Linked DNA regions of Homo sapiens: regions 1, 2, 4, 5, 6 and 7 are each linked to region 3. Evidence: promoter capture Hi-C in 16 types of primary human blood cells and fetal thymus (Javierre and others, 2016). All regions are on one chromosome and are shown on one strand. The core of a region is centred on a gene start or on the middle of the fragment in contact, and the rest is flanking DNA. Distances in the headings are between cores, read along the strand shown. Region 1 holds the start of ALKBH8 (alkB homolog 8, tRNA methyltransferase). Region 2 holds the start of LOC124902813 (a long non-coding RNA gene). Region 3 holds the start of KBTBD3 (kelch repeat and BTB domain containing 3). Region 4 overlaps CWF19L2 (CWF19 like cell cycle control factor 2). Region 5 holds the start of ELMOD1 (ELMO domain containing 1). Region 6 holds the start of CASP5 (caspase 5). Region 7 overlaps LOC105369466 (a long non-coding RNA gene).

Region 1 (3,876 bases), core at 28-2,527, 1.5 Mb after region 3:
AATTTTAACGTACGGCACTGGTATACAGAGTTTACATATAAATCTTTAGGACACACAAGAAATTGGTGATATGGGTTGCCTCCAGGGAAGGAAAATGGATCGATGAGTAAAGGAATGAAAGGGAGCTTTCTTCTTTCATGACTTTTGAAGTTAGTAGCTATTTAAACTGCATCATCTATTTAAAAAGAAAATAAAGATTTAAAATTTTTAGAAAAAAATTCACCCCATCACTTGTCACGGCACCCCGTTTTAACTCTTTGAATAACACTTACTACATATTTTCTTACACTCTCATTAATTTGTTTATTCTGTCTTTCCCCATAACTGAATAAAGAACACTCACTCCATGAAGTAGAGATTTTGTCTCTATTGTTCACCCTGTAGCACCCAGCACTTAAACAGGATTTAGCACCTAGCAGCCACTCAATAACCATTTGTCGAATAAACCTAAATCGACTTTGCTGTCTTACCTCCTAAACCTCCCCTCCTCCAGAATTCTGAGTTTGGTGGCCTTCTTCAACGTTTTCATTAACACCTAGCATGGACCTCTATCTCTAGAGTTCTCACATGGTATTATAATTGCCTGTTTGTGTTGGGCTTCGGCCAGAAAACTGTCATCTATTTAAGGGCACAGACTTGGTGCCTGACATACAACTGACAATAAATATTCAATGAAATCTATCAAAATAACAGGCTGACGCTACCAGAGGTCCAGGAGTCGCAGGGATTGCTCAAATAAGAGCACAGGAAGACTCAGCTGCGCAAGGGATCAGATCATCAGCACTGCCTTTGCATCGATGCAATCAGACCGATTGTCACCGGTCAGAAAAGCCCCAGAAGCGCCACACTAACACGCCCCATGTTGCAACCGTCCTCTCCAACCCCAAAGAAAACAGAAGATTGACACAGGCACCACGTGAGCGCCCGAACCAAACACAAACACATGCACCCTAAACACTGAGAGAACCACCCAACGCAGACACCCTACTGCCCACACTGCACCAAGGGCGCCTCTGGGATCCATCCCCTTTCCCTAGGTTCTCAGCCCTAGCTGGCAAGGCGGATAGAGAAGACCGGAAGAGGCTGAAAAGAGGAAGCGGTGATTTGCTGCCCGTATGCCCGCCAGTAAGAAGTGCCACACACCTCCGCTTCGGCTCAGGCCGGATTCTCACCATGCGTGTGCCTTCTTCTTTGCCAGCCTCTCCACTCTAGCACCAGAACACCGCAGCGGATACTTGCACGCCATCTCCCCTGGGCGCGGCCATGTTGGAGAAAACTGCACTACATTTCCCATGAGCCCGCGGGACAACGAACAGCGCTCCCACAGTCCTCTTCGCCTCCCAGAGCCCGGGAGTGACCCTTTTTCGACCAAGTGTCTTTGTAAAGTGCTGTCTGTTACACTGAAAATTCAGTTGTCTTTTTGGGGGGAGTAGTAATAATTGGTAGTGCAGCTATATTTTTATCTGTTGCTCTCCAAATGGACAAGGTCAAACAGGTTTGGGCCCTTTGGTCTTTCAGCAATGTCCCCTGGCACCTTCTATTCTTCGTGCATATTTCCTCCTGAATCTTATTAGAGGTGAGAAAGGAAAATAAATCTTGGTGCCACAAAATCACTAAGCTAAAGGGAAAAGTCAAGCTAGGAACTGCTTGGGCAAACCTGCCTCCCATTCTATTCAAAGTCATCCCTCTGAGTCATCCCTCTGCTCACTGAGATAAATGCATATCTGATTGCCTCCTTTGGAAAGGCTCATCAGAAACTCAAAAGAATGCAACCATTTGTCTCTCAGCTGTAATACGTGCGACCTGGAAGCCCCCTCCTCACTTTGAGTTGGCCCGCCTCTGCTTCAATTTGTCCCTCCTTTCTGGACGGAACCAATGTTCATCTTACATATATTGATTGATGCCTCATGTCTCCCTAAAATGTATAAAACCAAGCTGTGCCCCGACCACCCTGGACACATATCATCAGGACCTCCTGAGGCTGTGTCACGGGCGGGCGTCCTTAACTTTGGCAAAATAAATTTCCTAAATTGTCTGAGACCTGTCTCAGATATTCAGGGTTCACAGAGATATGGGAGAGGATCCTGGGGTCTGAAAGATGGCATTGCATGGGCGGGAGGGAAGGAAGTGAATATGCATGAATGTGCCAGGGGAATGGTGAGTACCACAGAGTAATAGAAAGATGTGTGGAAGAATGGTGAAGGAAGCAAGACAGAATTCTGTAGGCCTGCAGAGTGGGAGTTGCAGGGAGGAAGGTTAGAGAAATGAAATGATATGACCAGAGCTTCTTGTGGCAAGTGGGAGGAGAGACTAGAAGATGACTGATGAAGTGAAAAGTAACGAAATATTAACAAGCCCAGTAGTGGCAGAGGGAAAGAAAAAAGAGCTGGTAACAGATCATAAGTAAAAGACAAAGGAGAGGGTGATGATTAGCAGTTGTTCCTGCTCTGTTATTTGTTATATAAATGTACCATAATCCTTCTACCTGCATTGGTTTATGAGCTATGTGAGTGCAGGGAGGGAAAGGTGTAGGGGAAGAGGAATCACCTTCCCATGTTGTTGATACAATGGCCCCTATCTGCAGTGCACCACAGTGGACTAACAATAAAATAGCTGGCTGACCAGGAAAAGTGGCAGTGAAAAAAGAGTGCTGTTGAGTGGCGGAATGATTTGTGTGGAGAATAGGTTACAAACATGAAAGAACAGAAGAGGCAGATAGGCAAGCATTGCAATAGTCTAGGAAAGAAAGGGTGAGACCAAAACTTAATAGTAAAAATGAGGAGGCAAGTGCAAGCTGGAGAGGTCAAATCCACCAGACATTGCAAGCTACATGAGTATAAGAGGACACACAGGAAATCTCCCCATTGCAATTCTGCTTCTGCACTACTGGATGCTTTCAAAAACACATCCCCATAGAGCTTTCTGCAATGATGGAAATATTTTATAGTTTGAGCTGTCCAACATAATAGACACTAGTTAACGTGTGGCTTATGAGCATTTCAAATGTGGCTAGTATGACTAAGGAAATGAATTTTGAATGTTTAAATTTTAGTTTCAATTAAACTTAAGTAGCCACAAGTGGCCGGTGTCTACCAAACTGGATAACAGTGTAAAATATCCTCTTATCTCTTACTGATCAAATTCAATTACTTCATCTCAGTATTTGTCCTGCTTTAAGGTGCTGAAGCTTTTAAAACTTTTTTTCTGCACCTCTCTTTTAATTCTCTTTATACGATCTGATCACTTACTTTCAGAATTTTCCACTAGTTTCTCTCACTCTGTCCGTAATTAAATATAGGCAATCCCTCAGATTTTGAGTTTGACTCTTTTCTGTTATTCTAGTCTCTTCCTGTCTGCCCTCCCCAGAGTTATAAAGAGATTTGTGAATCATTCCCTAATCTTTATCTTCAGCCCTGGCTTCTATTAAAAGAAAAACTTTAGCCAAATTAAATTTAAAGGAGTTTAATTGAGCAATGAACTTTTGATTCGTAAATCGGGCAGCCCCCAGAATCACAGCAGATTTGGAGAGACTCCAGCACAGCCATGTGGTGGAGGATTTGTAGACAAAAAAAAAAAAAGGAAATGATGTACAGAAATCAGAAGTGAGGTGCAGAAACAGCTGTTATTGGTTACAGGTTGGTGTTTGCCTTATTTGAACACTGTTCAAACAATTGGCTACATTTGATTGGCCAAAACTCAGCGATTGGCACAGGTGTGGGCTATGGTTGGTTTACTCCTCCACTTGTTCACGATGTACAGAAAAACCTTTAGGCTGAACTTAAATATGTAAGGAGGCAGCTTTAGGCTAAACTTGATTAACACTTCCCTTTAGAAACCAGAGTGGTTTCTAAAGAATATGGGGGCATTGGAGTATGA
Region 2 (3,636 bases), core at 417-2,916, 1.1 Mb before region 3:
AACGAAGAGTGTTCCAATATCTAGATTTGACCATGAAAACTTTCAGCCTATTCTAATCTAGGCCTTCTCATTCACTCATTTTCTGATACTGTTCCCACCTTGCTCATTACATTCAAAACGTTCTGCCTTCATTTAATTTCTGGAAAGATTCTATTTAGGGGTCTCTGTATTTCCAGCCCCTACCTTCTCATTCATTCTTGTTTTCCTACTGCTGTCTGTCTAACCTTCAAGTCTCAGATTAGATGGCACCTTTCTCAGGGAATCAAGTCTCTACTTAGGGATCTGTATAGTTTCAGCACCCCCGCTTCTAATTTCTTCTGGTTTTTGAACTGTTCTCTGTCTATCTGTCTATCTGTCTATCCTTCAAGTATCAGATTAGATGGTATTTTCTTAAGGGAATCCTCTCTGATTCTTCCAGAGGAGACAGCATCAGAGATATATGCTCCTAGGGCACCTTGTATCTCCTTAGAGTAGCATTTTTTTTCCATTTATTTATTTATGTATTTATATATTTTTGTGAGACAGAGTCTCACTCTGTCACCCAGGCTGAAGTGCAGTGGTGCTATCTTGGCTCACTGCAATCTCTGCCTCCCGGATTCAAGCGATTCTCCTGCCTCAGCCTTCTGAGTAGCTAGGACTACAGGTGCACACAACCACGCCTGGCTAATTTTTGTATTTTTAGTAGAGATGGGGATTCACCATGTTGGCCAGGCTGATCTCGAACTCCTGACCTCAGGTGATCCACCCATCTTGGTCTCCCAAATTGCTGCTATTGGATTACAGGCCTGAGCCACCACATCCAGCCTTTTTTTTTATTTTTCCATTTAATTGTGATTCCCAGCCTACTTATCTCTATCCACTGTTAGAATTTATGCTCTGTGAGGACAGGGGCCATGAACTACATCTGCACTATTTTTGGCATTCTTTTTACTAGTTATTTACTGAATATTTACTAATTATTTACTGAATCAGTAGTCAAGTCCATGTAGGAACAAATGAATAAAACTTATGTGTGGCTCAACTCTTAAGGAATATGAAACCACCTTTGCAAAATTATAACTGAGGAAATTACAACAATGAACGAAATCAGACTGGGAAAGCCTTTGTGGCTACCTGCTTGTGGTTTGGTGCCCCCGCTCCAGCGATGGATCCAGAAGGTAGCCCAAGTAGCCGCCTAGTTCTCTTGGACTGGGGGCTGGCTCTGGTACTCTCTCCACTGGCAGGCACTGCCAACCCAATGTGCATGCATTTAATTGCAACGGAGAAATAATCCTGGAGAGATGTCCTCTAACTGTGGCCCTATCACAGGGTTTCCGTCTGTAGCTGCATTGAAGGGTGTCTGGATTGGTGAGTATCCTAGGTGCTGCCAATGCCTCCTTCCTTCTCCTGACTGGTTCTGTGGCCCCATAGTGGGGTGTCTGTCTGTAGCCCCATTGCAGGGTGTTAGGATTGGTGAATCTACTAGGCACTGCTAATGCCTCCTTCCTTCTCTCGACTTGTCTGTAGCTCTATGATGGGGTGTCTGTAGCCCCATTGCAGGGTGTCTGTAGCCCCATTGCAGGGTGTCTGTTTGTAGCTCCACCACGGGGTATCTGTTCGGCTCCACTGGGGTCTTGGTTGGCTCTAACTAGTAGGAAGAGTCTTGGTTCACGAGACTTGTCCTCAATCAGGACAATTTTGAGATTTCTCAGACAGAGAATAGGAGGATAGTTTGGAAGGGATACTCTTGGAGTTCCTGTTTAGGGATCATCTGATTTGGAAGGCCTTCTGTCTGTCTCATCTTCGTGTGTGTTTGTATATGTGGAGGGAATCTCAGAAGGAATTGCTGAAGGAAGTCCAGCAGGCCTAACTCAGAGGACTCTTCTTATTTGGTTACATTCGATGAGCCCTGGAGAAAGTTCAATAGGCCTGTCTCATGGTGACTATCTGCTCTTTGCCTTACCCAGAGACCCCATTGTGAATTACTGTTCTGAGGTCGTCCCTCCCCACCTGGAGTGGATCAAAGACAACAGGGACGAACAGAAAAAAGTCTGAGCTTTGCCAGGTTGATATTGGGTGCTGAACGAGGTGACTAGTGTCTGTTTTGTTATGTGAATTCTGCTGGGATAGAAAATGTTAAATGGTTCCCCATGCAGCTGGTTGGGCAGCATCTTGCATTTTAAGAATCTTGCCTATGTTTCCATAAAACAGAAAATGGTGACTTTTTTCTTGTAAAGTGGCTTGAACCCCACAACTATGGTGAGGTGAGCAGGCTGATCAGAAGCCGTTCCGTTCTTCTGGAAGTTACAGAGAAAAGGCACCCAGAAATCTGGTATGCCAGCAAAAAGTGTAAGAAATTCTTACCAGCTAGGTTTCTGGTCTCTCTCTCTTTCTCCATCTGTGTAAACAGTAAACATCACTATATGTTTCTCTGTAAAGTTTTGATTAATAGAAAAAAGAATTTACAAGACTAGTCTTAGCCTATAGCAAATCTGGTGTATTTTTGCTAAGAATTTGTCTTTCAGTGTTCTGTAATGGAAAGAGGGGTATCACAAGATAGAACATGGGTTTAGGACCCCTATAAGCCTGCTTTTCAAGCCAGCTCAGCAGGCTGGCCAATTATAATGGGTCCCTGAAACCAATACTGTATGAAATTTCTCTGTCTTGTTTGGCCTCCTTAAGAGCTTAATCTTGTGACCATATGTGGATACTTCCTTTTGGTTTATACCATCCAGCCCTAAAAATTTTTCTTGAGCAGTTAAAAGCCTTGGCAAGGTTAAAAGTGGCTTCTCTAGTCTCCTTCTTGGAATAGCAATAGAAACTGCTCAATGCTGTAATTCAGTAGCTAAGACTTTGCCTTTTGACATAGAGGCTCAGGCTCTATTCTTGGCTTCTGGAACAATTTCCTTCTGGTTTGCTATTTGCATAACTTTGCCATTTAATGAGGTTCCCCCACAACCCCATGGATAGCTTCTGATTTCCTCTCTTGAATTTTCCTTTCTCTGGACTACCTTGGGGAAATTCTAAATCTTGTAAAAAGAAACTGCTTACCACACCTTTGAAGCACCTGGGAAGTTACTTTTGATAAAGTTCAAAAGCCAGAAATGTTGGCCGCATGGCTAAAGTTGGGTAATACGAAATTTAAAAGGATTTTGTTAAGAGCACTAAGGTTAAAAGTCAGCTTAATTAAAAGTGAATAAACAAGTTATGGATACATTTAAAAGACCTTTATGTTTTTCTCTTCTTGGATCTCGTTTTTCTGTAAAAGAGGGTTTTTTCTTCTTAGTAAACTGAATTATTTTTCTCCATTTTTTGTCTTGCCACTCTTAATGCACACATAAGAGGCACTAAGATAACTTTTGGTAGCCTGAGACTCCTTGAGAAAAACAGAGGAAGCACCACAGACCCCATTTTGGGAAAAACAAACAACAAGAAACAAACAAAAAACCCTCTGTTTTCTTCATGACAACCAAGGAATTAAAAGTAGATGGATCACTCTCAAAATCAAAGGCTCTGTTCTGTTTTGCATTGTGTTATCTGACAGTTTGAATTTTGGGGATATCAGAAATTACTTTGCATTATGAGATAGCTTTGGTATGTAATAACTAGGTAGGAAATATACTTTAAGGGATGGCTAATAGTATTTTCAGAGGGAAA
Region 3 (3,936 bases), core at 250-2,749:
CAAATAATCCCTACGTTACTGTCTGTGTATTAGGCTCCATAGATCTAATACACAGAGATCTTGCTCGATGGTAAAATAATGGGATATGAATTCCTGAATTTAAACAAATTCTCTTTCTGAGCTCATTGTCTCCATCAGTAATAACTAGTGCACAGAACATGTGCAATAACGTACACAGAAGTGTTTTGGAAACAGAAACGTAATGTATCAAAGTTATAAAAATCAGTTTAAAACGACAAGAAGGAAAGGTTATATGATTCTTAGTTAAAAATGGAGAAGTGAGTTATGATCATTGCTGATATGGGTATTAGTATCACTTACGTATCTTTACACTGTCTCTTATTGTACTTTTTATGCGTATGATTTATTTGCCTTACCAGATTGTAAGCTCCCTGCAGCTGGTAAGCAGATTTTCAACATGGCAGCTGACACAGGCTTTTGGTTAGCTAAGATGATATATTAAGCCAATAATTCGTTTTACTGTCCTTTGGGGATCTGAATTTGTGTGTGTGTGTGCTCAGAATCCCATCTACTTTCGAGGGATTCGGGGGGCTTATGATATCACGAAAAGTTAATGAAGACAAGTATAGATAAAAACATAATAGAACCCATCTTAAATAGGACAGAAATCATAGGCAGGTAATTGTGTTAATTACTACCGCTGGCCTTTGGCTGATATTTCCGGGCAGTCAGAGGAAGAAGGAAATCGGCTGAATCCCGCAGTACCGCACTTTAATCGACCTCCAGGTAGTCATTTACAGTCATCTGCAGAGACCAACTTTTCCCTGGACCAAAACCTGCAGGGCACTTGGATCGCGTGGGCTTTCATACGAGAGTCAACAACAGCCTACACGGAACAACTAAGGAAACAGACATACATCAATATGACCCTTCGCAAAGTCTGAGAAAATAACTGAGCAAAGTTATTTACTTGTTTCTGTTGCTGTTAGAGCAAGGACCTCTGTCATGATGGAAACACTGATACCTCAACAATGGAATCCTGTTTTCTCGCTAGTGCTCTAGCCCAGGCTTGGCAATAGCAAAACAGCACCTGGGTCGCTTCATCGCCCCAAATAAACAGCCAGCATTAGCTCAGCTGCTCGCTGGCAGCCTCGGATCCAGGCGGGGTCAGTGTTGCGCACTGGGGATAGTGCCTCTGCTCGGCCTTCGGAGGGAGGGTTTCAGGTAGGCTGCTGCTAAGGGTCGGGAGCGTACTGTGTGAGGGTGGGTCTTAGGCTGATGCGGATGGGGGCAGGGAAAGAAGGAACTCAGGGCTGATGCGTTGCACAACTGCAGGGGGCACCACTGCAGACCCCCTCCTAGAGATGGAAACCTCTCGTGCCCCGTACACGAAGCAGCTGAAGCCAAGGACATTCTCTTCTCTGTGGGTCACAGGGGCCAACTCAGACCCTGAGAATAAGGGCTACCATCCCACTCCTCCCTCAGACCCCGGAGCTCACCCACCTGCAACTGCAGTCTCCGAAGTCTCCACCCCAGTCTCCCTGCCTCCAGAGGACTGGTTGCGATTGGCCTGCACCGCTGTCCCGTTAACTCTTCCGCAAGTGTGAGTGGCGTAACTGTCGGGCTCTTGGCCTTGGTCCCGCCCTTCGCTCGCCTCCGAAGCCTCGCCTACTTGACGTCATACAATGCCGCAAAGCGCAGGGCTGATCTCCGTCTCCGCCCCCAGCTGCTTTCTCCGAGAGGAGGTGGCTGAGTCGGGGGCGGGCTGGGAGGGCTGTCGGTGGGCCAGTCTGCGTAGCGACGGCCCGTCCCCTGCGCACGGACGCCGGGAAGAAGGGGGTGGGGCCACGTTTGCGTCCGCGCCATCAGGCCCGAGATAGCGGCGAGGTCCGCTTTCAGTGTATGGTTTTCCCTGCCAAACGGTTCTGCTTGGTGCCATCCATGGAGGGCGTGCGCTGGGCCTTTTCCTGCGGCACTTGGCTGCCGAGCCGAGCCGAATGGCTGCTGGCAGTGCGATCGATTCAGCCCGAGGAGAAGGAGCGCATTGGCCAGTTCGTCTTTGCCCGGGACGCTAAGGCAGCCATGGTACTACAGGTCTTTTTTGGTATTTAGAGCCTAGGAAGCAGATCTTGGGGGAGGCGGGCCGGGCTGTGGAGACCCGACACTCCCGCGCTGGCCGCGACCCTCTCGCTGTGGAGCCTGTGGCCGGCCCGGGCGACAGCAGCCGGCGCTGCGGAGTTGTGGGCGACGCACGGCCTGGTTTCCACGGCCTTTGTAACCGCCTTGGAGGCCGCGATGGCTGTAAACATTATCTCTTTCCCCTTGTTATTTCAAATGGAGACCCTCCTAAACCATGAAATAAGTGTAGGGAAGGCCGACAAAATTGGGTTTTTCTGTAATGAATGTTTTTATGTCTTTATCTTTAAATGTTATTTTTTTTTGTTTGTGTGCGTTCATAGCCTATGCTTATTCTGCCTGTTAAATATCCCATCATTCTCCAAGGACTCCCTGCACGTGGTAGGCCCTAGAAATTATTGACAGTATGATTTAGTTTGTAGCCCTGCGCTCCCCGGGATTGAAGCCAATGAAATTGAAGCCAGAGAGGATACCTTCCTCACTAGATGCCATGGGAAACAGTATTTTACGTAGATTTATTTATTTTAGCTATGTATTTTGAAGCAACAAATGGAAAACTGGATTTCAAAACAAGTAATCTGTACAATATGGTGCAATTTGAAACAACCGTGAATTACCATCATTTAAAAGACAGTCCTTTCTTAAAAATGTCCCATATTGAAACACTTTCTGTTTGAAATGTAGACTAGTTGATAATTTTTAAGGCACATTGGTGAAAATTTTTTACTCATTTGTAAGGAATTGTAAAATAAGCTACATTTAAAAGCCTGCAGTTTTTAAAAGTCAGTGTTAGAATTGAAGAAGAAAAAAACCTGAAAGATATTTTTAAAAATATATACTTTGTCATCTTATATTCTTGTTTTTTTGTGTGTGTGTTTTTAGTAATTATTTAAAAAATAATAATTGGAGGTGGGAGAGAGCAGAACAAGATAGGTCATGCCTTGCTAATTGTTGAAGCTGGGTGATCAATATATGGGATCTAGAAATACATATGCACAGATGTAGGTACAGTAGGGTTGCTCACTGCAGAGTTGTTTTTGACAGCAAGTCTAGAGCCAGCCTAAAATGTCCAATAAAGGGGAAATAATATTATGAAATATGCTACAGTTAAAACTGCATGGACCAGACGTGTGTGTACAGACATAAAATACTTCCCAATACTTATAAATTTAAAGCTTATATGTGGTAGAATACTGCATAAGTATAATCTCATGTTTGTGTTTATATGTAGAGTTAGCAAAAACATGTAAATGCACATATATTTAAATACAGAAAAGACTGACAGGATGCCAGCTGTTAACTTTGGTCACTAGCAAAGGAGAGGGAATTGCTAAGGCGGGCTTTAACTTTTTATCTACTTAAGCATTGCTTAAGTCTTAATTAACGTGTGTTTAATACTTAAGTATTTTGAAAAGTTTTAAAAATGAAAATTTTAGAAACCAAAAAAAAGTACTATTGCATACAGTGTGCTTGTATCTTTAGTAGACATCAGTACATACCAAATGTTTTATGTACTTAACAGGCTGGTCGTCTGATGATAAGGAAATTAGTTGCAGAGAAATTGAATATCCCTTGGAATCATATTCGTTTGCAAAGAACTGCAAAAGGAAAACCAGTTCTTGCAAAGGACTCATCGAATCCTTACCCGAATTTCAACTTTAACATCTCTCATCAAGGAGACTATGCAGTGCTTGCTGCTGAACCTGAGCTGCAAGTTGGAATTGATATAATGAAGACTAGTTTTCCAGGTAACGTTGCATTTTTCTAGTATGGCAGTTAAGTGTCTCGATGCCTCAGTTCTATTGCTATTGAGTAATCTCAGGCCAGGAGATGTATTAG
Region 4 (3,580 bases), core at 1,067-3,566, 1.4 Mb after region 3:
CTTCTACAAAATCTACTACAAAATCATATTATTAATATTATGTATCTATTTATCCAATTAGGAAATGAGTTCCCCAAAGGTTTAAAAATATATTTTTATATTCCCCATGTCTAGAACAGTGTCTGGCAAAGAATAAGCATTTGATAAATGCAAGCTGAAATTAAATGAAATGTCTTTTTCTACTCTTTCAATAGCACTAGTCAGAAACTTTTAAGCAGCAACCTATACTCATTTTCACAATTATGCACTCACTCACCTTACCACTTCAGCAAAATTGATGCTCCCCATGCTACGACTTCAGTTCTCTTGCTAATTTTAGTTTCAATCTCCATTTTACCTTGAACTCATTAACTATCAAGCTTAATACGCCTCCTGACCTAACACAGCCTTCAGGGCTCTCCTTCTCTTGTGCAGCCTGCAGAATTAACCACACCTCTAATTCTATCTAGTGGTCAAAACCTAGAAGGTGGAACTAAGACAGAAAAGTGCTACCAGCAAAACTCAAGGGATCTTGAGGACTTCTGCTTCTGTCCTTGACAAAATAAATGGCATCAAACTAGAAATACATACAAATTGGAATAAAAATGAAACTACAATCTCTACAGCTTTTTATCTAAAGGCACTTTCTAGACTGTGGCATAGAGGGGTAACCCAAGCAGAACATGAAAATCTCACTGAGCAAAGGAAACGGAATTTGAACTTTGTGAAGGCTGAAACAAAAGTACAGATGGGAAGTTACACAGAGAAAGGGTGCCAGAAATCTACTTAAAGGACCCCTGGAGTCTTTAAAGAAAGACCAAGCTGAACATGCTGAGGATGAGAGTCCACAAGGTCAGGCAAAGAAAAATTACCATGGAGAAAACAATTACCAAAGAGCTGTAAGCAGAACAATCCCCAGAGCTCACAAAGGGCTGGAAGACATTCTAGTTCCTCCCAACCAGAATAAAGAAACCTCGCTGAACATCCATGACAATCAGCAGAGAACCCACAAAGGTCATGCCTTAGTAGAAAGGCTAAACCAGTCCTAGAGTAAAGCTATTCTAGGTGCATACGAACAAAACTTAAAAACAATCCTTGAAAAGGATTAAGCTAATTCACAAGTAATTAACTGTATGCCAAAAGGAAACTCAATACTCTCTGAAGAAGTCAACAAAATCCAGCAGTCACAATATAAGTTTCATAGGGTTCAGCATCCAATTAAAAGTTACTAGACATTCAAAGAAGCAAGCAAATGTGACCCATATTCAAGAGAAAAATCATTTAATTGAAACAGAACAGGAAAAAACAAGAGAAAATGAAACAGCAAACCAAGACTTTAACACAGCTATCATAAATATGTTCAAGGAAGGGAAAATGTAAAGATAATGAGGAGATAAACTGAAAAACATTAGAAAGATCCAAACGAAACATCTAATGATAAAAAAAAAATACAGTACCTGAAATGAAAATGTCACTGGATAGGGATAACAGTAAGCTAGACACAGCAAAAGAAAAGGCCAGTCGGCCAGGCGCAGTGGCTCACACCTGTAATCCCAGCACTTTGGGAGGCTGAGGCAGGCAGATCACGAGGTCAGGAGATCCAGACCATCCTGGCCAACATGGTGAAACCCCATCTCCACTAAAAATACAAACAATTAGCTGGACGTGGTGATGAGCACCTGTAATCCCAACTACTCAGGAGGCTGAGGGACGAGAATCACTTCAACCCAGGAGGCGGAGGTTGCAGTGAGCTGAGATCACGCCACTGCACTCCCGCCTGGCAACAGAGCGAGACTCCGTCACAAAAAAAAAAAAAAAAAAAAAAAAAGGCCAGTAAACCTGAAGCTCACGACATAGCAATAAAATATACCCAACCCAAGGCATAGAAAGGAAAAAGGCTAGAAAGTAAGTGAACACAGGCTCATCAACCTGTGAGACATTATTTTAAGGAGACTACCAAAATGAGAGGGAACAGAAAAAAAAAATACTTCGAAAAAAGCCTGAAAGTTTCATATTTGATGGAAACTGTAAACTCACAAATCAAAGCAGCACAATGAACCTAAGGCAGATGCTACACTCTGAATGTTTGTGTCCCCCACCAAATTCTTATGTTGAGATCCTGACTCCCAAGACAATGATAATAGGGGCTGAGGCCTTTGGGAGATGACTGGGAATGGGATTAGTGCCCTTATAAAACATAGCCCAAGAGCACTCCCTTCTGCCATATGAGGTTAGAGTGAGAAGACAGCCATCTCTGAGGAACTGAACCCTCATCAGACACAAAGTCTACCAGCGCCTCGATCTTAGACTTTCTAGCCTCCCAAACTGTGAGAAATAAGTTTCTGTCATTTATAATCCACCCAGTTAGTTTTGGTATAGCAGCCCAAATGAACTAAGACAGTAGAATAAACACAAAGAAATCAATACCAAGACATATCACAATTGATTCACTGAAAAATAATGATGAAAAAAAAAGCCCTAAAAGCATCCAGAATAAAAAGGCACACTACATACAGAGAAAAAATATTACAATGACTACAGAGTTCTCAATATGTACAATGCAAACCAGAAGACAATGGGATGACATTTTACAGTGCAAAAAAAAAAAAAAAAAGAAAACACTATAAACTTAAAATTCTTTATCTAGCCAAGTATCTGAAAAATGAAGATTGCTAGTAGGAACTTCTGAGTTTGTGGTAAAAGAAAAAAAGAATGAAGATGAAATAAAAGAAATTTTCAAACAAAAGCTGAGAGAATACAATGTCTGCAAATCCATATTATAATACATGTTAATGAAAGTTCTACAGACAAAAGGAAAATGGTATTAGACAGAAATTCAGACCTACATAAAATAATAAAGAATATCAGAGATGATAAATCTGTGGGTAAATATAAAAGACTTTCTTCATATGTGTAACTTATTTAAAAGATAACTGACTAAAGTATAAATAAAAAGAATGTATGACATTAAAAATTATAAACAATGTGGGTTTATAACATATGTAGAAGTAAAATATATGACAACAATAGCAAAAAATATGGTAGGAGAAAATGGAAGTATATTTTGGTGAAAGTCTAATTATAAAAGTAAAATTATATATTATTTGAGAGTATGGTAAGTTAAAATATGCATAAGACTTAAAGCAGTCATTAAAAATAAATAAGGTATACCTAATAAGCCTACAGCAGATGAAATGGGATGCTAAAAAACACTCGATCCAAAAGACAGGAAAAGGAAGGAACAAAGGAAAAAAGAACAAAGAAAAAATAGAAAAGGAATAACAACATGGTAGACTTAAACTCATCCATATCAATTATTACATTAAACATAAATAATCCAAACCAGTACTATTCAAAGAATTTTTCTATATACTGTCGAATATAGTAGCCACATAAATTTGGCTGATATAATTTTAATGAATTTTAACAAAAAATTTAAAAGCCATAAACAGCTAACAGATTAGAGAGCACAAAAAACATCTAATTGAAAAGTAAGAGACGTGAGCCAAGATTGCGGCACTGCACTCCAGCCTGGGTGACAGTGTGAGACTCCATCTCAAGAAAAAAAAAAAAAAGGAAGAGGCCAGATGCAGTGGCTCAC
Region 5 (3,641 bases), core at 204-2,703, 1.5 Mb after region 3:
AAAGACTATGGAGTAAAATTCTTTTGTCAGGTGGATTAATCTATCCCTAATGAATCTCTCCCGAGAAGCTTTTCCCTCCAAAGGTCTATCTTTTTCCAAGACGTTTATTCAGGGAGGTATCCTTCATATCTCCCTGAAAAGAAAGAAAAGTAAATAGTGGCTAATGCTTTTAACAATGATTAAAAAAATCAGAAAGGTCAAGGCTTTAAGGTCATTTAATGTGAAGAGGAAATAAGATAAATGTTCAGCATTTAAGGATTATCACTAACCCAACTTTTCATAAACACAGAATAGTGGAGGTGGAACCTGCAGAGACTTTTATTCAGGGAACATCCACTGCGGGACAGGCAGATGCTTTGGTATCCAGGCTGCTCCGCGCCGCCAGCTGCCCAAGTAATCCTCACAACAGCCCGCAGAGGTAGGTATTAACCACCCTTTGTTTTACAGGTGAGGAAACAGAGGCACAAGACGGTCAGGTAACCGGCTTGGAGTGATGAATGAAACTAAAATAAGCGCCGACCTCGAAGCTCATTTGGTCTTTCCCCAACCCCATGCGGCCTCATTAAAGAGACTTTTTTGATTAGCTATGGAGAAAACGTTCTTCATCAAACATGAAATGCAATCCGGAAGGCACAGGTTTCTCTCTCTCTCTCTCTCTCTCTCTCTCTCTCTCTCTCTCTCTCTCTCTCTCTCTCTCTCTCTCTCTCTCTCTCTCTCTCTCTCTCTCTCTCTCTCTCTCTCTCTCTGTCTGTATGAAGTGGCTTCTGGGGCCCCACGAAGCAATGTTCCCCCAAACAGCCCCGGACGAGGGTGTCTATAATTCATCCTGTTATAATTAACCCCGGGGTTACGGTATTGCTTCTAAAGCCCTTGTTGAAATGCAGATATGGACCTCGCAGGATTGACACGATCTCTCAATTACACCTAATTAAAGAGCTGGCTCTTTGAGAATCTGACCCGACTGGGCCAGGAGTGGGAAAGGCGGGGGCTGCCGGTTGGGGTGAGGGATAGGGTTCTGCAGTCCCGGGAAGGCAGGTGAAGGGTGGGGATCAGGATTGGAAGAGTCACTGGGTGCTCGGTGAGACGAGGGAGGTTGGAGCTGAACTAAAACAAAGTTTGACTTCTGGACAATTATCCAGGGAGAGGGCGGGGAACACACCTTGCCCGGACTGTCTGGGAATCCCATTGACAGGTCATCTCAGGTTCACCATCTTCCTGTCGTGGGCTCCTCCAGGGAGGCCACCCGGGAGCAATTAAACTGGGCCACACCAGCCACCTCCCACAGCAGCGGGGTCCGCAGATTTAACCCTTTCCCCCCAGATTCCGGCACTGGGTGCCGCGCTCTCTCCCCCAGCACCGCGCCCGCGCCCCCGGCTCCCGGACTGGGCATGCTCAGTAGCCGCCCGCTTCGTGCTCCCAGGGAAGCCTCTGCACGCCCTCCCCCGCTGCTCTCGGTCGCCTCCTCGCCGCCAGCCGCCCCGGGTGCATCCCGGCTTGCTCCGCTCCACGCGACCCAGATTCCTGCCCCGCCCCCGCCCCTTCCGCGCCCGCAGCCAGTGCGGCAGCCGCGGCCGCCCCTGTCCAGCCTCGGCGCCCGGGACCGAGCGCGTCGCTCGCCGCCGCGGAGCGCGTAGCCGGAGCGCCTGGGGAAGGCGGAGATGAAGACCACGCCGCCGCGCGCCGGGAGCTGCTGAGCCTACCGCCGCCAGAGTCCAGGTGATTGGCGACCCCAGAGGAGCCTAGGGAGTAGGGGCGAATGCCCTTGGGGAGGAGAGAGGTGCGGCGAGGACGCGAGGCATCACGCAAGCTGCGCTGTGCCTGGGAGGCAGCAGAAATGCTAAGCATCGGGGGCAGAGAGGGAACGGGAATGAAAGTGCACTCTGCCTTGGTGCAGGGGCTCCGGGGTCACCCAGGACAGTGATTTCCCCTTCTATCCTGTCCTCCCAATTAACACCCGAGAGGCTGCAGGTCGGCGCGAGAGGCTGTTTGCATCTCGGCCCGGGCGTAGGTCGCCTAGCGACCTAACGCCGAGGGCTCGGGGAAGGGATCCCAGACAGAGCCAAAATGGAAGGCGGGACAAGGGCGGCCTGGCTGGGGCGAGGGGCTGGTCTGGGTCCCTGGGAACCCCTTGCCTTGTGGGCTTCGGTCTCCAGGGAGGAGCTAGGCAGCCGGGCTGCGGGGCCGCCGGACTGTGGGGTCCTCCGCGCAGCGAGCTGGGAGGAGCGGTCGGCTGGGCTGTTGAGCTGCGCCTCCTCCAACTGCTGGGAAACTCCGCACTTCAATATTGGAGCATCTCTTTCCCGGGCAGGTAGAATTGGACAGCCGAGTGGGGAGTGACAGCTGACAGCTGACGGGGCTGTTAAAAGCAGAGCAGTGGAGTGTGGTGGTGGGGTGAGCTGTTGTGGGTGCTTTTTTTTGTTTTCCAAGTGTGGGTACGGGCTGTTCTGACTCAGTGTTTATGCTCAACCTCTAAGCGGCGAGTTCGGTAACACATCTTATGAATATTTCAGGAACGACCTCACGGGCTCACTTGCTTCAGATCAAGTTTAATGAATATGTTGTCAGCCTTTCTGCTCTGCACAGTGCCCTGAGCTTTCCACATTTCATCCCTTTCCCCCACCACCTAGGAAAATACGCTGCTAACCCCCAGTGGGCCGTAGATTGGTACTATCAATTGAGTCTGTCATTTGGAGAGACCAATTTTGGGCAGGCATCCAGGCATTGTTCTGCATCTCTGCAATGTATACGTTTTGTGCCGGTGGCTTGACAACCGTCCTTAACTGGTGCTGCCAATATGGTGGAAAGCAGGTAGTATGCTTGTATTGGGATAAATGTCTTAATTCATTAACCTATTATGACAACACGTAGTTACAGCAGACTTAGTCATTCCCTCCCCCAGAAGTTTTCTCGGGGGTCAGTTTAGTTGGTATTTTGCCAAAGGCACACTCTTGTATCTACATTGGGAGGTATTTCTCTCATCTTAATCTTTTTCATAGGAAGAAGAAATAAATGTCTTCTCTGTAAGACATCACTGTCAAGAACACTGAAAGAAGAACCCATTAACGTAGGGAACGTTGAGGACTGGAACAGGTTGTAGGGCGTCTTCCTACACTTTGGGTTATAACTTCCATTGCATCACCACCATTTACCAGTAAACCAGCACACACAGCAATCAGTACTCGAAATGGTTCTCTTTTGCAGAAAAAGCCTGCTTTTCTCCCAGCTTTGGTGAGATAGATACGTAATCTTCGTAAAGACCTATAAGGAATTCCTCTGTGGAACAAAATTTTAAGCCTCCAGTACAGGATGCTGAAAGAAGCAACTCTTTAATCTTGCCAGCCCATGCACAGTGAAGCTGAAGTGCTTCAATTTACAGATGTTTTACATTTAGGGAAGGCTTTTCCAACAAAGACCTACCGCAGTTACATCACAGGCTCCACCTCCGCCTGCCAGGCTGCTTCTGCAAGGCTGTTAGTAAGGATACTATGTATTGCTGTGCTTGATTAATGAAGAAAATAAATCTCCAAATCAAAGATTTGTTTATTTCTCTTTTTGCATTCTGCTGATTTAATTGAAAATATGAAAATTTCAAAAATTAATACTTGCAGCCAGGACTTAACTGAGGCATGATAATAACTCTA
Region 6 (3,896 bases), core at 656-3,155, 1.1 Mb before region 3:
TCTAAAACACCAAAAGCAATGGCAACAGAAGCCAAAATTGACAAATGGGATCTAATTAAACTAAAGAGCTTCTACACAGCAAAAGAAACTACCGTCAGAGTGAACAGGCAACCTACAAAATGGGAGAAAATTTTCGCAACCTACTCGTCTGACAAAGGGCTAATATCCAGAATCTACAATGAACTCAAACAAATTTACAAGAAAAAAACAAACAACCCCATCAAAAAGTGGGCGAAGGACATGAACAGACACTTCTCAAAAGAAGACATTTATGCAGCCAAAAAACACATGAAAAAGTGCTCACCATCACTGGCCATCAGAGAAATGCAAATCAAAACCACAATGAGATACCATCTCACACGAGTTAGAATGGCAATCATTAAAAAGTCAGGAAACAACAGGTGCTGGAGAGGATGTGGAAAAATAGGAACACTTTTACACTGTTGGTGGGACTGTAAACTAGTTCAACCATTGTGGAAGTCAGTGTGGCGATTCCACAGGGATCTAGAACTAGAAATACCATTTGACCCAGCCATCCCTTTACTGGGTATATACCCAAAGGACTATAAATCATGCTGCTATAAAGACACATGCACACGTATGTTTATTGTGGCATTATTCACAATAGCAAAGACTTGGAACCAACCCAAATGTCCAACAATGATAGACTGGATTAAGAAAATGTGGCACATATACACCATGGAATATTATGCAGCCATAAAAAATGATGAGTTCATGTCCTTTGTAGGGACATGGATGAAATTGGAAATCATCATTCTCAGTAAACTATCACAAGAACAAAAAACCAAACACCGCATATTCTCACTCATAGGTGGGAACTGAACAATGAGAACACATGGACACAGGAAGGGGAACATCACACTCTGGAGCCTGTTGTGGGGTGGGGGGAGGGGGGAGGGATAGCATTGGGAGGTATACCTAATGCTAGATGACGAGTTAGTGGGTGCAGCCCACCAGCATGTCACATGTATACATATGTAACTAACCTGCACATTGTGCACATGTACCCTAAAACTTAAAGTATAATAATAATAAATAAATAAATTAAAGAAAAAAAAAGACTGCAGATTATTCATATATGTTATAAGGTTTAGAAAGCACTGATCTATTCCAGTTTCTTCCTTTTTCCAGTGAGGAGAATGAAACCAAAGACGCAATATGACCTGCTGGAATACGAGCTGCTTAAGTAGCCCAGGACTCCAACTCATAGGCTTTTTTAGCTTCTGTGTATAAGACAGTTGGCCTGAAAGTAGTGTGCAGTATGGACTGAAGGGTTAAGTTTTTGGGAGTGGGAAGACAGTTAAAAGTCTATGATAGCAACCTAAGATATATTACATTATAAGAGTTAGTACCAGGACTACATAGAAAGGTGGAAAAATGCAATCACTTTAAACAGACCAATAAGATAATTCAAGATAAGAGATGACAACACGTTGAGAACACAGAGGCTCTCAGATCTGATTGTGGGGAGAAGGTTCATAGTCTGGAGGATTAATTTGGAATCAAGAGGAAGCAGAGAAGATTTCAGAGTGCATTTAGAAATTTCCGGAGTTTTCTCACACAAATAACTTACTCTGTCTTTCCTTACTCTCTCTTTGATTACCAGAAGCTGAAAGAAAGGAATTAACCTTTTTCTGGCTTGAAAACATCTAGAGAACATACTCTCCTTCAGTGTCTCTACACAGTCTCAGGATTCAAACTACATACCACCAATAAGAGAAAGATTCAGCATGCACACTATTGGTTGATTTCCCTTTTGGTATTTCTGCCTGTCACATAGCAATAAATCAAGATTTTTCTAAGACCTGAGTACCCAGCTGCTAGTCAGAAAAGGGCCCAGACTCACCAGCCATAGCTAACAGCCTCTGTCTCTTTGTACAGCACTGGAAAGTGCCTCAGACTCAGAGATAAAATACACTAGGTACTTCCTTATTGCAGGGAGTGGGGACAAGTGATTACAGATTATGGGAAGTTGCTTCTGGGAACCTATAGTTTCATCATTGGGAAGTGCCCTGTAGTAAGCAAATTGGCTTTCTATTCTTGAACTCTAGATTCTTCCCTGGGGAAAAAAAATGCAAATGACAAAACATTGTTTTGTGGGTTGAAACCTCAGCCTGGTTTTCTTTTTCCTTTTCTCTCTCCATAGCCCCACATCTTCTTTTATTCATCCCTCTCTTCTGATCTGTCAGTTTTTCTACCTCTGCTCGTCTAAAAACACATGTCCTGAATGAGTAAAATCTAACTAGTTTCCTTGCATCTTCCCATAAGAATTAACCAAATATTTTGTATATCTTGGGTTTCTTTATTTTTCATTTCAATTTTTATTTGAGTTTCAGGGGTACATATGCAGGTTTGTTACAAGAGTATATTAGGTGATGCAGAGGTTTGTAGTACAATTTAACCTATTACCTAGGTAGTGAGAATAGCACCCAGTACATAGTTTTTCGGCTCTTGCCTTCTTCCTTCATTCCTCCCTCTGGTATTTCCCTGTGTCTGTTATTCCCGTCTTTATGTCCATGTGTACACAATATTTAGCTAGAACTTACAAGTGAGATTATGTGATATTTGGTTTTCTGTTTCTGCATTAATTTGCTTAGAATAATGGCCTCCAGTTGCATCCATGTTGCTGCAAAGGGCAGGGTTTCATTTTTATGGCTGTGTAACATTCCATAGTAGCAGTGTACCACATTTTTTTAAATCCAATCCACCATTGATGGACACCTGGGTTGATTCTATTATTTTGGCTACAGTGAATAGTGCTGCGACAAACATTTGAAAGCACATGTCTTTTTGATAGAACAGTACATTTTCCTTTGAGGATTCAGTCAGTAATGGGATGCTTGGACAAATGATAGTTCTTTTTTTAGTTATTTGGTAAATCTCCAAACTGCTTTTCAAAAAGATGGATGCATCACATTACTGGACTTCAAGCTATGCTAGAAGTCTACAGTAACCACAACAGCAAGGTATTCGTACAAAAAAAACAGACACAAAGCCCAATGGAACAGAATAGAGAACCCCAAAATAAAGCCACACACCTATAACCAACTGATACTCAACAAAGTCAACAACAACAGCAAAAAGAAACAAGGAAAGGATTGTTTATTCAATAAATGTATTTCTTGTTTAAACTGTGCTGAGGAATCATGATGGAGTCTTCTCCTCCCCATCTCCCTGTCATCTTACGCTTTGATTGGAGACAGTTCTGAAGGAATCCTCTTATCTACTTCCTGGAATGCTGTTCTTCAACTGACTAAAACTGCTTTAACAGTTAATTTTTACTTAGGGTGGCAATTCACTTCTCCTTTTTGATATTCTCTGAGCAAAGACTGATCACAGATGTAGTCTCAGGTTGTAGTAGAGTATGCATGATAACACAGAAGAGATATGCCCAGAGAAACAGTTAATAAAAGGTAAAAAAAAAAAAAAAGAGAGAGAGAGAGAGACTGTAATGTGTTCAACTATGAAGGTGTTTAAGAAGTCAGAAATTAACTCTCATTTAATCTGTTAAATATTAGAAAAAAACATATTTGCAAGTAAGGGGTAGTTCTTCGAATCCTCCCTAAATCTTAACATCCCTGAGTGCATGATTTCACCCCAAACTCGTTTTCTCTGCACCATGCCAGGACTTCACTGTGCACACCATGCATCCTAGAGTTTCTTCAGGGTGTCAGGCACCATCTGCCAAGCGCTTCATTTTGGATGGCTGTCTTATCTTTTCAAGAAGTCTGTGAACTACTGAGGGTTGATTCAAAACTTACTTTGTCTTAAATACTTTTGCAAAGGGTAGAAACATGCAAGTTCATGGATTTGTCAGTAGCAAACTGTGGGATTTGGGAAAAGTTCTTTATCACACTACACTGTCGCTGTCATAA
Region 7 (4,042 bases), core at 1,490-3,989, 1.4 Mb before region 3:
ATGAAACTGAAAATATTTCTAGGGCTATGTTACAACATTAGCCTGCCATCAGAGTTACTTTTCTCTAGTTCCCATTAAGCAGTGTGTAAGTAAAAGAGAAGATACTCGAATATTCTCTTGAAGATGTAATAAACATCTTCCTTTTTGTGAGTTAGTAATTGTTTTTTAATCTATCATCCCCTTGCCAAATGTTATCTATTTTTCAAATTTAATTTTCTTGGTAATAGGCAGTTATTGCAGAACTCTTATTAAAATATGTAGAGTTATCTTAACAAAGTGCTGATAATTCACATGATGGTCCTGGGATGTTTTGATGAGCTTCATTTTTTAATATTATATTTCAATGTTTCTTCATAGACTTAGCATGAAAGTGTTAAGTATTTAAATGCTGCTTAGGCTTGTTACTTTACAGGGTGTGGGTATGCAAAGATGAGCAGAATATGCAGAATGTCTGGCTTATCTGAATTTTCAGGAGAAGTATTAGAAGATACAATTTTATTTCAGTGGAGCATAATCATAGACAAAACATCCTGATAGATTTACTAATGTTCAGGGTGTTCAGAACTAGGCAAAATCTGATCAGAAATTTTTAGACTGAGAAAAATGTTCTCACTCATTTTTAAACTAGAGTATGAAGTGAGAATTTTCTTTGTGCACTAAACTTGCAAAATTATTAATACATTGTATGTGAGATAACTATCAGTAAATTCCAGTTGTATTGTGGAGTGTTAAAATGTGAATGAGCTATTTTAAAAAACCACCAGATTTAACCACTAGTTTCTGTATTTTTGTGTTCTAGCTTTTCATGATGAAGTTGATGCCTAGAATACAGCAAATGTCACAGAGCAATTAGCGCAGAGAATAGAATAAAATTCAGGTTCTTTGTTGTCAGGTTCAGGCATTTTGGGACTCTATCATCCTATCTTTGAATTATATAATGCCATATATAGTACCATCTGTCTATTCCTTCCAAATCCGCTTAAATATCTTTCTGGTAGCATTCTACCAAAAATAATTATTTCAATGATTTTGGTAATTCTTTTCAATTTTATTCTTAAATTGCTGGCTATTTTCACTTTTTATTTTTTATTTTGGAATATGAAGTTTCATTATGTGCTAGTTTATTTCCAAAGAATATGTCTTTGATGGCAAGCAGTAAATAAATTCCATCATGCTGAATATTATGATTTTTGTGGTTTGCACTACACACATAAAAATCCCTTATATCCATGTCTTAAATTAAAAAATTGTACTTATGGAGACGTGAATTTAAAACATAATAAAAATATTAAAGTGGCTATATTCATGCTGCAGAATTGCCTATTTGTGCCAACAGATTACTCTTCCAGATTTACTTGTTTTTTGGGTACAGAAATAGGAAAACATCCACATACACGGGTTATCAGATGAATGAGATAGAGCCTAAGAATATGTTGAAATTTCCGTGTTTAACCAGATCAGTGTTACTAATATTAGGATTTAATAAGATACAAAGACATAGCAGATGCTTCTATTTAACAAAGACATGTGGTGCTCTCTGACCAAATCCAGATGTGTTCATAGAGCTTGTAGTGAAATTATAAAGTCACCAATTGTACTTACAATTTTAGAGTAAGTAAATAAAGACAGTGTCCTAATATTCTTTCCCCAAAATCTACCAGGTGCCTAGATAGTTATAAATATTTTTATGAACCAAAATGAATTACAAAGTGAAAAAAATTGCCTCTAAGTTGGGGGATATAAAAAGTCAGAGATGATATGACTTATACGATTATTTTAAAACCTGGTTAAATCATACACGCTCTCCATAAACAAAGTTACAGTACAGTAAGATAAAGAGATTTACATTTTCCAGAGGTGGAACTATGTGCAAAGATGAGGACAGGGTTAGTAGAATTGGGTGATTCGAGGTAGCCACCATAAAAGTATTTAAAGTAGAGACTGGCAAACTTTTTCTGAATAGGTGAGAAAATACTTTAGGCATTGCAGTCTCTTTGAAAAATGGTCATCTGGCTGGGCACGGTGGCTCATGCCTATAATCCCAGCACTTTGGGAGGACAAGGTGGGAGGGTCACTTGAGGCCAGGAGTTCGAGACGAGCCTGGCCAACATGATGAAACCTCATCTCTACTAAAAATACAAAAATTAGTTGAGGTGGTGGCACACACCTGCAATCCTGGCTACTCATGAGGCTGAGGCAGGAGAATCACATGAGCCTGAGAGGTGAAGGCTGCAGTGAGCCGAGATCACACTGCACTCTAGCCTGGGTGACAGAGCAAGACTCTGTTAAAAAAAAAAAAAAAATTACCAACTCTTGCCATCATGGTGTGGAAACAGCCACTAATACACAAATAAGCATGACTGTGTTTCAATAAAACTTTATTGACAAAAACACTCAGTGTGACGTTTTTGGAATGTAGGCTGTAGTTTGGTGACTCAGCCCTGCAATACATAATATAGTAGAAATACCAGGGAACTCAATGTCAGAAAATATTGTTACAAGTACATACTCTTTAGTAGGTTTTTTATTTTTACTTTTATTTCTTGTTAATACCTTGGCCAGGCATGTTATCTTTCTGAAACTCTCTTCTTAACTCATTGCAATATAGTCACTGGAGGACAGGATTGCTGTACAGATAAAGTGAGATAACATAGACATCCTGGTAAAAAAGAACACACAATTTTAAAAATTTTATTTCATTACACACTCCACTAAAATGACAGTAGATGGAAAGGAAAATATAAATTCCCAAGGTCAAAAATGGGAAGAGAGAATAGAGAGAAGATACCAGATACAAGACTCATCAACAAAAGTTTTGAATTTGGAAAGCTGAGATATGGGTAGAAACTGCTTTATTAGATTTAAGAAAGCTGAACATTAAGTATCTCAGAAGCAAAACTAATAAGAAGCAAGCTGAGTTGTCCTCCCAAAACTTCAGAAAGATTTTAGAATTGATGGCAGATAATACATTTCAAGGTGAGGATATTAGATGATGCTAAACCCAGAAAAATTTGTACATGAGGCATTTAAACTGCCAGATCCCACATACCAGCCAGGAGAGCCACCATTTTCTATTGTTTCTCTATGCCAACAGATGGGAGAGTCAGTTTTTCAAAAAAAAATTTTGACTTGGTGCGGTGGCTCACGCCTGTAATCCCAGCCCTTTGGGAGGCCTAGGTTGGCGGATCACCTGAGGTCAGGAGTTCGAGACCAGCCAGGGTAACATGGTCAAACCCTGTCTCTGATAAAAATATATTAAAAAAAAAAACAAAAAAAAACAGGCATGGTGTTGGGCACCAGTAATCTCAGCCACTTGGGAGGCTGAGGAAGAATTGCTTGATCCTGGGAGATGGAATTTGCAGTGAGTTGAGATCATGCCATTGCACCCCAACCTAGGCAACAAGAGCGAAATTCCATCTCAAAAAATAATAATAATAATCAAAATGAAAATAAAATAATAATTTCAACTTTTATTTTAGATTCAAAGGGTACATGTGCAGGTTTGTTATACGTGTATGTTGTATGCTACTGAGGTTTGGGATAAAGATGGTCCCATCGCCCAGGTAGTGAGCATAGTATCTAATAAGTTGTTTCTCAGCCCATGCCCCGCTTCTTTCTTCCTGTCCCCAGTGTCCGTTGCTGCCATTTTTAATGGTCATATGTAGTCAATGTTTAGCTTCCACTTACGAGTGAGAACATGTGATACTTGGTTTTCTGTTCCCACATTAATTCACTTAGAATCATGGCCTCCAGCTGCATCCTTGTTGCTGCAAAGGACATGAGTTTGTCCTTTTTATGGCTGTGTAGTATTCCATGTTGAATATGTACCACATTTTCTGTATGCAATCCAATGTGATAGGTAATCTTTATATGTGTTGATGCAATAGTCATTGAGCTTAAGGATACTAGTCAGACAATATGGGTATTTAGATTTACTGAATACAAACAGGCTTAAGTAAATTTCGAATTCTGAATGGTTATCACCTCTCAGCTGCTTCCCCTAATTCATCAAGATGCTGATAATAGTCAGGCTTATAAGTTT

Evidence for each region. The method cuts DNA at HindIII sites, captures the fragments that hold promoters and counts their contacts. A CHiCAGO score of 5 or more calls a contact.
Region 1: a contact is called between the fragment with the promoter of ALKBH8 here and the fragment with the promoter of KBTBD3 in region 3, in 1 of 17 cell types (total CD4 T cells). The highest score is 6.4, in total CD4 T cells.
Region 2: a contact is called between a fragment that was not itself captured here and the fragment with the promoter of KBTBD3 in region 3, in 1 of 17 cell types (neutrophils). The highest score is 8.6, in neutrophils.
Region 4: a fragment that was not itself captured here is called in contact with the fragment with the promoter of KBTBD3 in region 3 in 1 of 17 cell types (non-activated CD4 T cells); the score reaches 5.9 in non-activated CD4 T cells.
Region 5: a contact is called between the fragment with the promoter of ELMOD1 here and the fragment with the promoter of KBTBD3 in region 3, in 1 of 17 cell types (naive CD8 T cells). The highest score is 5.4, in naive CD8 T cells.
Region 6: a contact is called between the fragment with the promoter of CASP5 here and the fragment with the promoter of KBTBD3 in region 3, in 1 of 17 cell types (neutrophils). The highest score is 5.7, in neutrophils.
Region 7: a contact is called between a fragment that was not itself captured here and the fragment with the promoter of KBTBD3 in region 3, in 1 of 17 cell types (M0 macrophages). The highest score is 5.2, in M0 macrophages.

What each region holds. Positions count from the first base shown.
Region 1 is chr11:107,564,458-107,568,333 of GRCh38, forward strand. It overlaps ALKBH8 (alkB homolog 8, tRNA methyltransferase), which reads right to left and starts at 1,278. Exons shown (of 12, transcript NM_138775.3): 1 at 1,144-1,278. RefSeq lists enhancers at 629-1,147, 951-1,440, 1,148-1,664, 1,511-1,570, 3,499-3,578. The HindIII fragment of the contact is 7,705 bases long and covers 1-3,185 here.
Region 2 is chr11:104,959,970-104,963,605 of GRCh38, forward strand. The region is part of intron 1 of CASP4 (caspase 4); the gene reads right to left. LOC124902813 (a long non-coding RNA gene) reads left to right here and starts at 474. Exons shown (of 2, transcript XR_007062986.1): 1 at 474-3,636. The HindIII fragment of the contact is 6,671 bases long and covers 1-3,636 here.
Region 3 is chr11:106,075,848-106,079,783 of GRCh38, forward strand. KBTBD3 (kelch repeat and BTB domain containing 3) reads right to left here and starts at 1,500. Exons shown (of 4, transcript NM_198439.3): 1 at 1,465-1,500; 2 at 660-860. It overlaps AASDHPPT (aminoadipate-semialdehyde dehydrogenase-phosphopantetheinyl transferase), which reads left to right and starts at 1,815. Exons shown (of 6, transcript NM_015423.3): 1 at 1,815-2,046; 2 at 3,620-3,845. The coding sequence starts at 1,864. RefSeq lists enhancers at 1,293-1,412, 1,423-1,532, 1,843-2,082. The HindIII fragment of the contact is 8,387 bases long and covers 1-3,270 here.
Region 4 is chr11:107,446,562-107,450,141 of GRCh38, forward strand. The region is part of intron 3 of CWF19L2 (CWF19 like cell cycle control factor 2); the gene reads right to left. Among named protein-coding and RNA genes, the nearest start is that of CWF19L2, 9.5 kb to the right of the region's middle. The HindIII fragment of the contact is 3,918 bases long and covers 358-3,580 here.
Region 5 is chr11:107,589,694-107,593,334 of GRCh38, forward strand. ELMOD1 (ELMO domain containing 1) reads left to right here and starts at 1,454. Exons shown (of 12, transcript NM_018712.4): 1 at 1,454-1,716. RefSeq lists silencers at 1,337-1,446, 1,507-1,646 and an enhancer at 1,897-1,956. The HindIII fragment of the contact is 4,180 bases long and covers 67-3,641 here.
Region 6 is chr11:105,021,263-105,025,158 of GRCh38, forward strand. CASP5 (caspase 5) reads right to left here and starts at 1,906. Exons shown (of 10, transcript NM_004347.5): 1 at 1,868-1,906. The coding sequence starts at 1,874. The region is part of intron 1 of LOC124902742 (a long non-coding RNA gene); the gene reads left to right. The HindIII fragment of the contact is 8,276 bases long and covers 1-3,896 here.
Region 7 is chr11:104,688,951-104,692,992 of GRCh38, forward strand. All of the region lies in intron 1 of LOC105369466 (a long non-coding RNA gene), which reads left to right. Among named protein-coding and RNA genes, the nearest start is that of LINC02552, 82 kb to the left of the region's middle. The HindIII fragment of the contact is 6,917 bases long and covers 1-4,042 here.